2 separate regions of the Homo sapiens genome follow, and region 1 is linked to region 2. Evidence: promoter capture Hi-C in 16 types of primary human blood cells and fetal thymus (Javierre and others, 2016). All regions are on one chromosome and are shown on one strand. Each heading gives the region's core, a stretch centred on a gene start or on the middle of the fragment in contact. The rest is flanking DNA. Distances are from core to core; before and after follow the strand shown.

The links. The method cuts DNA at HindIII sites, captures the fragments that hold promoters and counts their contacts. A CHiCAGO score of 5 or more calls a contact.
Region 1: a fragment that was not itself captured here is called in contact with the fragment with the promoter of CIPC in region 2 in 1 of 17 cell types (naive CD8 T cells); the score reaches 5.7 in naive CD8 T cells.

What each region holds. Positions count from the first base shown.
Region 1 is chr14:76,144,344-76,150,463 of GRCh38, reverse strand. No RefSeq gene overlaps it. Among named protein-coding and RNA genes, the nearest start is that of GPATCH2L, 4.5 kb to the left of the region's middle. The HindIII fragment of the contact is 627 bases long and covers 1,593-2,219 here.
Region 2 is chr14:77,095,331-77,101,503 of GRCh38, reverse strand. It overlaps CIPC (CLOCK interacting pacemaker), which reads right to left and starts at 3,246. Exons shown (of 4, transcript NM_033426.3): 1 at 3,143-3,246. LOC124903350 (a long non-coding RNA gene) reads left to right here and starts at 3,486. Exons shown (of 2, transcript XR_007064275.1): 1 at 3,486-3,628; 2 at 4,604-5,039. RefSeq lists enhancers at 312-361, 2,476-2,635, 2,775-3,604, 3,966-4,015 and a silencer at 3,636-3,785. The HindIII fragment of the contact is 10,027 bases long and covers 1-6,014 here.

The DNA.
Region 1 (6,120 bases), core at 657-3,156, 950 kb after region 2:
GGCTCACACCTGTAATTCCAGCACTTTGGGAGGTTGAGGTGGGCGGATCACCTGAGGTCAGGATTTCGAGATCAGCCTGGCCAACATGGTGAAACCCCGTCTCTACTAAAAATACAAAAAATTAGCCAGGTGTGGTGGCACATGCCTGTAGTCCCAGTCCCTACTCAGGAGGCTAAGGCAAGAGCATCGCCTGAGCCCAGGAGGCGGAGGTTGCAGTGAGCAGAGATCGAGCCACTGCACTCCAGCCTGGGCGACAGAGTGAGACTCAGCCGTCACAAAAAAAAAAAAAAAAAGTGAATAATAGGAGAAAGTGTGAATTACACAGAAACTGTAACAATCTTCATAATTTTTATCTAAACCCAAAATTATCCTAAAATAAAAAAGTTTATTTAAAAATATGCACATACCTTGGACCCTGAAATTTTGCCCCAAAGAATTGTATTCTAAGGAAAAATTGGAAATGGGCGCAAAAATGTTAAATATAGGTAAATCATCTCTGCAGCATTTCTGAGGGAGAGATGAGGAAACTAGAAAAAGCCAGAAGTTCTACAACAGGGGTTAGTTAACTAAATTATGGTACATCTATGGGTGGAATATCTTGCAACTTTTAAAAATTAATGTTGCAAAAGAATATTTAATGACATGAAAAGCCATCGACTTATGATTGTGTACATTTCTGCATGACTGTTATACTTCAATAAAAAGATTACTCTAAAAATGTAGAGTATGATTCCCATACAAAGGAAATTAAATCTATACTCGCAAAGGAATATGACCAGAAGAAGCCACCATACAATATCCGAAATGGTTTCATTATCAATGATTATATCTCCTATCTATTGTTTTTTGTGGATTTTCAGAATGTTCTATAGGTGAAAAAAAGTCAAGGTAGGAGACAAAGATAGCTGAGGTTTTGAGCTAGGGCAACTAAGACAATGGTCAGTGCCATCTGCACAGCTAGAGAAGTCAAGAAGATAAACGGGTTTAGTGGAAAGATGATTAATTCCATTTTGGACATGCTGAATCTGTGACTCCCACAGGACAGAAATATGGAAATGTTCAACAGGTGTCCACAGCCTTAGGCCTCTTTTCTGCATAAGTGAAAATTCTCTCCCACAAATCACATCTGTTCCCACGGTGTTGATTGCCTGCATCAGCACTGAAAGCTCCCAAATTTCTTGAAATCCAACTTATATTTTCATTTTTCTACTAGATAGCTCCACTTGTTCACCTCACCAGCATTTCCAATTTAAAATGTCAAAAATAGGCCAGGCGTAGTGGCTCACGCCTGTAATCCCAGCACTTTGGGAGGCTGAGGCGGGTGGATCACTTCAGGTCAGGAGTTTGAGACTAGCCTGGCCAACATGGTGAAACCCCGTCCCTACTAAAAATACAAAAAATTAGGCAAGTGTGGTGGTGGGCGCCTGTAATCCTAGCTACTGGAAAGGCTGAGGCAAGAGGATCACTTCATTCCAGGAGGCAGAGGTTGTAGTGAGCTGAGAGCACACTGCTGCACTCCAGCCTGGTGACAGGAGTGAAACCGTGTCTCAAAAATAAATAAGTAAATATAATAAAATGTCAAAAATAAAGCTTAGTTTCTTCCACAGTTTCTTTCTTCCTTCCTTCCTTTCTTCCCTCTCTCCTTTCCTTTTTTTTTTTTTTTTTTTTCCCAGACAGGGTCTCTGTGAAATGAAAGACAGAGTGAGACCATGTCTCAAAAAAAAAAAAAATTGGAAATGGGCTCAAAAATGTTAGATACAGGTTAAATTCTTCTCTGCAGCATTTCTGAGGGAGGATTGAGGAAAGTAGAAAAAGTCAGAAATTCTACAACAGGGATTAGTTAACTAAATGATGGTACACCTACGGACAGAACACTGCAGTGGCATGATCATTACCTCACTGCAGCCTTGACCTCCTGTGCTCAAGTAATATTCCCACCTCAGCACCCTAAATAGCTGGGACTACAGACACATGCCACCATGCCCAGCTAATTTTTAAATTTTTAGTAGAGAGATAGGGTCTCCACTATGTTGCCCAGGCTGGTCTCAAACTCCTACCATCAAGTGATCCTCCTGCCCCAGCCTCCTAGAGTGCTGGGATTACAGGTGTGAGCCACCTTGTCCAGCCTCTTCCATAGTTTCTATCAAACCTGCCCCTTCTCCACTGTTCACTCTTTGGAAAATATCGCCACCATCATGCAGTTACCCAGGTGAGAAGCTTCAAACCCATTTTTAGTTCTTGTTTCTTTCTTTTACCCCTTTATCTAGCAAAGTGCTAAGCCCCGTAGATTGCACTCCTGCAGTAGTCTTGCATTTGTCCTCCCTCATTGGTTTTTGCTCTGCCATTGGCCTCATCTGGGCAGGTAACCACTCTTCTGGGTGATGCAGCAGCTGCCTTACTGGTCTTCCCACTTGCAGTCTCTCCCCCCAAAATGCCATCCTCTACCCAGGCACCAGAGTGAGTTTCCTAAAACACAATTTTAGTGGTGTCATTTCATCCATCTTCCACTACCTCCTGCATCATGCTTGAGCACACCATATCACTTGCTAGTTCTAGAACACCCTTGGGATCTGGGGTGATTTAAAGGCTCAATTCCAATGTCACCTCAAGAAAGACACTTACCCTTGCTTGCCCACTCCTTTGGCTCTCATTCTGAGCACTTGCCGGTAGCTTTATGACCACACTCTCTTCCTTCAACCTGAACTAGAGCCAATTATGTGCAAGTTTGCCTCCCCAACTAAGTCACTCATTCAACAAATATTTACTAAGCGTCTACAATATGCCTGGCCCTGTGCTTATATGTATATAACTATGTGAACCAAACCAAAGCCTACTGCATTGCCCTGAAGACCCTGTCCTATTCATTGTATTCTCATCAGTGCCTAGCACAGTGCCTTACACATGGTAGGTGCTCCATAGTTATTGTTGGTTAAAAATTAAATGAATACTTGTTTACTAAATGCTGGGTCAGGGACATTAGAAGTGCTTGTCTCAGTCCCATGAGAAAATTGTAATGAAACTTCCGCCTTCATGGGATGGTGGAAGCCATGGGCAGAATCACATAATGAAAGAGGGTGGTGAGAGAAGTGGCCTGTTGTGGAAGAAGAGGACAGCTCCAAAAAGACTGAAAGCATCTGAAGAGAACCTGTGTCTAAAAGCCAGAGGAGAGAGAGTTTTAAGAAAATGAAGAAGAAAAGGAAGTTTGAAGATGAGCAGTTCTGAGGAAATGCCACCACACTTGGCAACTGAGGAGGTCACTGATGGTAATAAGGCCTGAGCAGGCTGCAAGCAGGCAGCAGTGGAGGAGGGGGAAGGAGGTGAAGGGTGAAGCCCTAACTGCCTGACTGTGTCCAGAGCTAGAAGCTTCACTTCTTTGAGCCTTTGCTTCCCTATCTGCAATATGGAGACAATATTTGTACATATCTATCTCTTGGATGGAGATGAAATGAAATAATGAATGTAAAGCATTTAGTACACAGCCCAACACAAATTAACTGCTCCAAAAGTATTAGTAGTTACTGAAAAGAGGGGAGTAGTCAACAGAAGTTTCCCTTTTTTGACCATCAAACGTAGTCGAATGAGGAAATTCCCAGCTGAAAAAGAATCTGCACATGGAAGGAAATAATAGGCTTCTCTCACCTCTTTCCTCCCCACAAAAATGTATATATATTTTTTGAGATAGAATCTCACTCTGTCACCCAGGCTGGAATGCAGTGGCACGATCATGGCTCACTGCAGCCTCGACTTCCCTTGGGCTGAGGTCATCCTCCCACCACAGCCTCCTGAGTAGCTGGGACTACAGGTACGCGCCACCAGGCCGGGCTAATTTTTGTACTTTTTGTTTGTTTACGTGTTTGGGGTTTGCTTTTTGTTTGTTTTTTTTTGTTTCGAGACAGTCTCATTCTGTCACCCAGGCTGGAGTGCAGTGGTGTGATCTCAGCTCACTGCAACCTCCGCCTCCTGGGTTAAAGCGATTCTTGTGCCTCAGCCTCCCTAGTAGCTGGGATTACAGGCACACACCACCACACCCAGCTACTTTTTGTATTTTTCAGTAGAGACAGGGTTTTGCATGTTGGTCAGGCTGATCTAGAACTCCTGACCTCAAGTGATCTGCCTACCTTGGCCTCCCACAGTGGTGGGATTACAGGCGTGAGCCACCGCGCTTGGCTGTTTTTGTACTTTTTGTAGAGACAGGATTTCACCGTGTTGCCCAGGCTGATCTCAAACTCCTGGGCTTAAGAGATTTGCCCACCTCGGCTCCCAAAGTGCTAGGATTACAGGCATGAGCCACTGTGCCCAGCCAAATATATTTTTTAAACAAATAATTAATAATAAATAAAAAATCTTCCACTGCTGATTTATTACATTCCCTGCACTTATAATAAACCTAAAGTCCTCACTATGGCCTGCACAGTCAGGTATGATGTGGGCCCTGCCTGCCTCTGGTCTTGACTCTCTTCCCTGTGCCCACAGTACCAACCCACCATGCTCTTTTTCCACCTTCCCCAGGGCCTTGACATGCTGTCCTGCACCTGAGAGCATCATTGAGGCCTTGGCTAAAATATCACCTCCACAGAGAGGACTTTTCTAATAGGATCTAAAGTACTTTCTATCTCATCGTCCATTCTGTGCAGCTATAACAAAATACCATAGACTGGGTGATTTATAAAGAGCAAAAATGTATTTTCTCATAGCTTCTGGAGTCTGGGAAATCCAAGATCAAGGTGCTGGCAGGTTTGGTGGTCTGATGAGGTTCACTCTTTGCTTCAAAGATGGTGCCCCGTTTCTGCATCCTTTGGAAGGGAGGAATGCTGTGTCCTCACATGATGAAAGGCAGAAGGGCAAGTGAGCCAACACTCTGTAAAACCTCTTTTATATGAGCCTTAATTCCATTCATGAGGGGAGAAGCCCGCATGACCAATTACCTCTTAAATACTCCACTTCTTAATAAAATCACATTGGCCATTAAGTTCTAACACCTGAATTTTGGAAGATACATTTAAACCATAGCACCTGGTATATTTCCCTTATGGCACTTATTATAGTCCAACTTCATCCTATTTCTTTGGTACTTATTTGTTTGTACTCTGTTGCCTCCCACCAGGATGTAAGTTTCATAAGAATAAGGACGGTATCTGTCCTTTCACCTTTGTATCCCCCTGGAACCTACAACAGTGCCTGTCACATAGTAGGTGCTCAATAAACATTTGATGAATGAATGGATTCCTCATCCTCTCTCCATAATTTATTTCCATTTTCCCCTTTTCCTGGCTCAGATCTTCTCTGAACAGATCCAAGACATCTGGAAATCTTTCCAGAAAGTTTTTCCAGCAGCCACTGGAGAGATGTTACTAACAGAAACAGTGTCCACCAAGGAGGACAGGAAGTGTTAGCATATACTTGGAAAGTGAGTGACACCTGGCAACTTGTCCGCCTCCCCTACCCCTGGTACTCCTGGTGCCTTCTCCTTGGGATTATAGGAACCTTCCCTGGAGGCAGGAATGCAGGAGTGGGGAGATGCTGAGCACTCCTTGGCAGCAGTGATAACAGAAACACATCTCCTGTAAAGCACACCAAGAGGGGGACAGTGAGGGGTTGTGCTGGGACCCAGGGCAGCAGCCAAGGAGCAGGTGGCAGTAGACAGAGGTTCGCCAACTCCTCCCTTGCCACGCCTCCCATGCTCTCTCACTTACCCTCCTCAACTCTGTTGAATTTAGGGATTTTGTTGAAGTAGCATTTACTAAAAGCTTACTGTAGTCCAAGAATCATGCTGAAGACTAGATTCAGTATTTCATTTAATCCTCTCAATAACCGTTTTGATATTCATGGCTATAGCACCTATAATAAAGGACAGATTAACAAAAGCAAAGCATACAAATTTATTTAAGATAAGTTTTACCTGACACAAGAGCATTCAGAAATGAAGACATTAAAAAACAGGGAAACTGTATTTTTATGGACACTCATTCAGATGTATGATTGCAGAAAAAAGGATATGATCTAATGGTAATAAACTCGGAGAAACTTAGCAAAGCCCATTTATTCAGATTCTTTTTGGTGTCTTTGCATCTTTGAGGATAGGGACATTCTTCTTCTCCAGGTATAGGGAGGATGCCTCTG
Region 2 (6,173 bases), core at 1,997-4,496:
AAGAATGTAAAATCGACTTTAGGATGGCAAATTGACTATTTTTCATATGAAAATGATTAAAAATATGAAAGCCTCTATCTTCAGTAAAGTTCTCTTAAGCAGCAAAAAGCCTTAGCATTGCAGCCAGGGAGGCTCACATGGGATGTAGAACAAAGGGCTACATCCCTCCCCAAACTTTACTCTTTCGGAGGAGTAGCAGCACTGCCCTCCTGGGAGTGGCTGAGGGACCCACTCACACATAGCACCACATAAAGCCTCACTTACTACTGGTGCTCTCAACCCCAAAATTTGCAAGGCAAAGTCTGAAAACCTCGGGAAGTTGCTTGATTTTTTTCCTCTTAGATATTAGTTTACAATAAAGTTACATGCTCACACTGACTAGGAGTTGAAAATGGATTACTAAGCTCTTACCCACTGTGTTCTTTCTGCTTCCTGCTTCCTGGCATAGACTGGAAATCACTCACGCTGCTTTACAAACACATGTACCTTATTCTGCATTAAAAGGGCTAATTTAGGCTCCAAAACTGTCAGAATTTACCCTAATTGGGCCTCTTATGCATGTATATGTAACACATTGTCCAAAAGTTTCCCAGAGAGGATAGTACACACTAAAACTCATAATGGAAAGTGAATCAGGCCGGGTGTGGTGGCTCACACCTATAATCCCAGCACTTTGGGAGGCAGAGGTGGATGGATCACCTGAGGTCAGGAGTTCGAGACCAGCCTGGCCAACATGGTGAAACCCTGTCTCTACTAAAAATACAAAAATTAGCTGGGTGTGGTGGCACACATCTGTAATCCTAGCTACTTGGGAGGGTGAGGCAGGAGAATCCCTTGAACCTGGGATGTGGAGTTGCAGTGAGCCGAGATGTTGCCACTGCCCTCCAGCCTGGGTGAAGAGTGAGACTCCGTCAAAAGAAAAAAAAAAAAGAAGAGAAAAGAAAAGAAAAGAGAGAATCAGAGCCAGGCAAGGTGGCTCACGTCTATAATCCCAGCAGCACTTTGAGGCACAGGCGGGCAGATCACCTGAGGTCAGGAGTTGGAGACCAGCCTGGCCAATATGGTGAAACCCTGTCTCTACTAAAAACACAAAAATTAGCTGGGCTTGGGGATGTGTGCCTGTAATCCCAGCTTCTCAAGAGGCTGAGGCACGAGAATAGCTTGAACCTGGGAGGCAGAGATTGTAGTAAGCCGAAATTGTGCCTCTGCACTCCAGCCTGGGTGACAGAGTGAGACTCCGTCTCAAAAAAAAAAAAAAAAAAAGAAAGAAAGAAAGTGAATCAATAAATATATAAGTTTATATAAGGGGACAAAATTCAAAATCCTAGCAAGTGCTCCAAAGCATTTAGCTCTTACTACTCTTTTTGCACTTCTGACATTAGTCTAATTATTTGTCTCCTCAACCTCGAGTTGTTTTTTTCATCTTTGCAACCTCAGCCCCCAACAATTAACATGAGGCATTCAATAGAGTAATAAATTCCAACAAATCTCTGACCTGCTGAGTCTCTGACAGCTCTAGTAGCTTAGCAGTCACAGAAATACCTGAACAGCTTGAAGGTCAAGATTCTGCATTTCCAAACACCACGGTCACCTTAAGATCTAACCTCCACGTCTGGTCCCCTGCAGGAAACAGATATTTGATCTACCCCTTATTCTAAGTTGAAACGTCAGGGACAAATCCACCATCCAAATTAAGGGTTGATCTAATCCACAAACAATCTTTGTGAAGATTTGTCCTTATGATTAAAAAGGAGATCCAGGGTTACAAGAAAAGGATCTGAAATGCTGCTTTCAGATCTCTCCTTTTATAGACACTTGGCAACATTCCTGGAAGCTCAAGTTCCCTTTAAAATGTGTCACGTGTATAACATGTGTGCCTGGACAGAAGTGTGAGGTAAAAGCCCAACCAGAGGCTTAAATACAATAAAGTGATAAGGTCACAGAAAGAAAACCTTGAGTAATCCCCGTTAGAATTATAAATACATTACTAGCTTTTCTCCGAAGTCATTTTCTTTTGGCCTGCATATTCAGGGATACCATTCTGGGAGAATGTCTGGGTATCTTAACAGTGGAAAAACCCTGTCTACCTAAATGTCTAATATTCATCTTCCCTTCCACATTCATTCCATTTCTCCAACTTGGCTGAAAATTCGTGTCAAAGATCCTGAACCCCAATTCCATACAATTTCCTATGTTTTAGACCAGTTTGGCTCTATTTTCACCTTTCAAAGGGGAGATGAGCTTAGAGAACTTTCTCCGATCCCCTGCTGCAATTAGTTCACAGTAACAGTGCCCACCTACCCATTCGCACCAGCCCACGTTGCATCTGTGCCAGGCAGCATGTGCACCCTCCAGGCATCCACCAGCCTGCCAGCTCAGCAGGGCAAAACTGGGCAGACCCTAGTACTGTGCTGTGACTGGCATACCACCAGCCTTCCAGGGCAAACGCCCAGGCAATGCATACTGCCAGGACTTGAGCAATAACAGGGAGCCTAGCTCCAGCCTGTGACCTGGGCCGGGATCAGAGCTCCCCCGAACCCACCCACTAACCACTTAACTCCTTACTTGGCACTGCCCACCTTCTCCCCAGAAACACTACCCCCGACACCAAGCCTGGCAAGCTGGCCACTCAGGGGAAACAACCAGCAACGAGGGTGACGGCAGGTCTCTGGAAAAGGCAGCACACCTGTGCCCTGGAGCCAGAACAGGGTACCACCCCCGACCTCAAACCGGAAGCCCAGGACCCTCGCCCAGTTACTAGTTCTGGCGCCCACTCACCTGCCCATTGCTTGGCCCTCAGCTCCCAGCCGGGCTGGACTCCAAGCTCTCTCCCCGCCCAGCCGGCTGGCGGTTGCGCCCAGGGCTAGACCAGGGCCCACCTGCCCCTCACACAAGCCTCCTCCCCACACGCAGCCCCCTCCTCACCCGCGATTCCCTCTCCCACGCCCCTCACAGCAAACCAAAGCCCTGCTCCCACCATTTGGCTCTCCGTCCTCCGAAAGTCCCGGTTTGCCCCTCTTGCCTACTCGCTCCTCTTCCTCTCTCCCCTACTTCCACCTCCTTTCCCCACGCTCCTCGCCCAATCCCTCTCCCGCCGTCATCCCTGCTCCCCTCCTCCCGGACCGAGCCCTCCCTTTCTCACCTAGGGCCGGGGTCGCAGCTCCACGACCGGCCTGTGGGTCAGGTGGCGCATGCGCGAGCACGGCCCCGCGGCACCATGACAACCTCGTCGTCGCTGGGTGTCTCGCTATCCCCACAGCCTCCCGCCCATTTCTCCTCCCCACGCCTCCGCGACGGCTTTCGCCAGCCACGTGACCCGACTCGGATGACCCGGCACCATGGAGACCGCACGCTGTTCTCCTAGAAGGGCCCTTGGAAATGCGCCCTTTCCCCGCCCCCGCCGGAAGACCAGGCCGGCGCGGGGCGGGGCCAGCGCTCAGAGGCCTACGCTCTGTCCGCGGCCGGCGGGCGTCTCTATGGTTGGTTCCTCAGGCCTCGCCGCCATTTTGTACGGGGGCCTTGAGCAATGAGCGGCTTGGGCAAGGTTTCCAGGCGGGGTTCAGAGGAGCCGGGGGTGGGGCCGGCTTGGAGTCGATACAGAGAGAGGAGCGACTCTCGCACTGTCTTGGTGCGTGCCGCCGTGCCGCCGTGCCGCCGTTGGGGGTGGGGGCCGGGGCGAGTCGTGTCCGGCCTGTGCGCGTGCCGGGAGCGACAGTGCCCGGCGTGGGAGAGCGGGCGTGCGGGCGGCCTCAGCCTGGAGTCGCCGTGACAGGGGTGCCAGACCTCCCCGCGTGCTCCTCGCATTTTCTCTACGCCTGTCGCCCTGTTTGTTTTTTGTTCCCGTCCACCCTCGAGACCGTGCTTCACGAGGTCGAGGCGCGATGAGTTATTTTAAGTAGATGATTTCATGACCTTTGATGTTTGACTGACTTTGTCATGTGCTATGGGTTTTATATGGATGCTGTTTCTTGGTGAAGGTTCACGGTGAACACACGTGTGTAACAGCTAAAGAAAAAAAGGGCTTGGGATCAGTTGACGTTCTGATGCCTTGAATCAGTGAAGGTTACTTAGAAAAAGAATTATTTCGCTAGTGAAAAAGAGGACATGGGCGAGTTTAAAGAGTTGACGGGTCGAGGCAGATTCAAGAGCTGAGCTGTCCAGTAAGATGGTCACTAACGACTGGATAAGTTTCTCAGTTGTACTAGCCACATTTCAGGAGCTCAGTGACCTCTTTATTGGACAGTGCAGATTATATATAGCCCATTCCCAGCATCGCAGAAAGTTATATTGGACAGTGCTGATTTAGATAGTGGGGAATTGTTTTATACTGGTCATCCAGGCCTTTGTAAGTGCTGCTAGGTCGTGGTTAATCACGTTAGTCCTCTAGACACAGGTAATTCTAATGTATTACTGGGTATGGGTGTACTTGTTAGTAGTCAGCTTTACCAACAAGTAATATGCCTACACCATGTAAGGCTTTTGTTTTGGGGACAGAGTGAAAGCAATAGTTAACAATTACCAAGTAATTAGGAGCCGGGCCGCTTTATATGCATCCTTTTATGATTCCTTACAAGTTTATGACGCAGGTGGTATTTTTTTCCAGTTGTGTGGCGTTTTTGCCCATTAGGACTCAACTAAAAACCCATGGCTTTGGCCAGGCACAGTGGCTGACGCCTGTAATCCCAGCACTTTGGGAGGCCGAGGCGGGCGGATCACCTGAGGTCAGGAGTTCAAGATCAGCCTGGGCAACACGGTGAAACCCCGTCTCTACTAAAAATACAAAATTAGCTGGGCGTGGTGGCACATGCCTGTAATCCTCGGGAGGCTGAGGCAGGATAATCGCTTGAACCTGGGAGGCGGAGGATGCGGTGAGCCGAGATCGTGCCATTGCACTCCAGCCTGGGCAACAAATCTCCGTCTCACCAAAACAAACAAACGAAAACCGTGGCTTTTATCCATGAAGCTATTAATATATTGCCTTCTTTTGAAGTGGAATAAAACAATCTGCCTTCAGATAACTTAAAATCTGATATGGGAAATAAGACGCGCTGTAATAAATAATATGAAAGAGAATGGGATAAGTACCAGAAGATTGTGAACAAAACCTAATTAATAAAATAAAGGGAGAAAAAAAAACTTTGTTTTTTTTTGGTTGTTGGAGTAGGAAGAGATCAGTAGGTAAATCTTTAAGGATAGCTAAAAGTTGGATTTGCAGTAATGGAAGTGGGTGAGAGTACGACGCACACAAAGCAAAAAAAGAATCAATGAAATAAGCAAAAGCATGAGGTGTGGTCCTATCTTAGTTTTCCGAAGGGGCAAATAAATAAACTATGAGAGGAATGAATTAATGGCATTTGCAGCAACCTGGATGAGATTGGAGACTTATATTCTAAGTGAAGTAACTAAGGAATAGAAACCCAAACATCGTATGTTCTCACTCATAAGTGGGAGTTAAGCTATGAGGATGTAAAGGCATAAGGATGATACAGTGGACTTTGGGGACTCAAGGGGAAAGGGTGGGAAGGGGGTGAGGGATAAAAGACTACAAATTGGGTGCAGTGTATACTGCTCAGGTGATGGGTTCACCAAAATCTCACAAATCACCGCTTAAGAACTTACTCATATAACCAAAATGCCACCTGTTCCCCAAAAACCTATGGAAATAAAAAATTTAAAAAACAGCAGCATGGATACTAGGCTTAATACCTGGGTAACGAAATCATCTGTACAACAAACCGCCATGACACAAGTTTACCTATGTAACGAATCTGCACACGTATCCCTGAACTTAAATAAAAAACAAAACAAAAATAAAATTCAAAAAAAAAAAGAATAAAAGTCTGCCTTCAAATAACTTACAATCTGATATGGGAAATAAGACATGATGTAATAAGCAATATGAAAGAGAATGGGATAACTACCAAAAGATTCTGAACAAAACAATAACATTAAGGGAGAAAAAAAAAACTTTCTTTTTCGGTTGTTGGAGTAGAAAGAGACCAGCAGGTAAAGCTTTAAAGACAGCTTGAAAGTTGGGTTTGCAATAATGGAAGCAGGTGAGGGGATAATGCATACCAAGCAAAAAAGAATCAGTGAAATATGCGAAAGCATGAGGCCCTCTTAGTCCTCCGAAGGGGCAAATAAACCAAACTTCCTTGACTTTACCTACATCT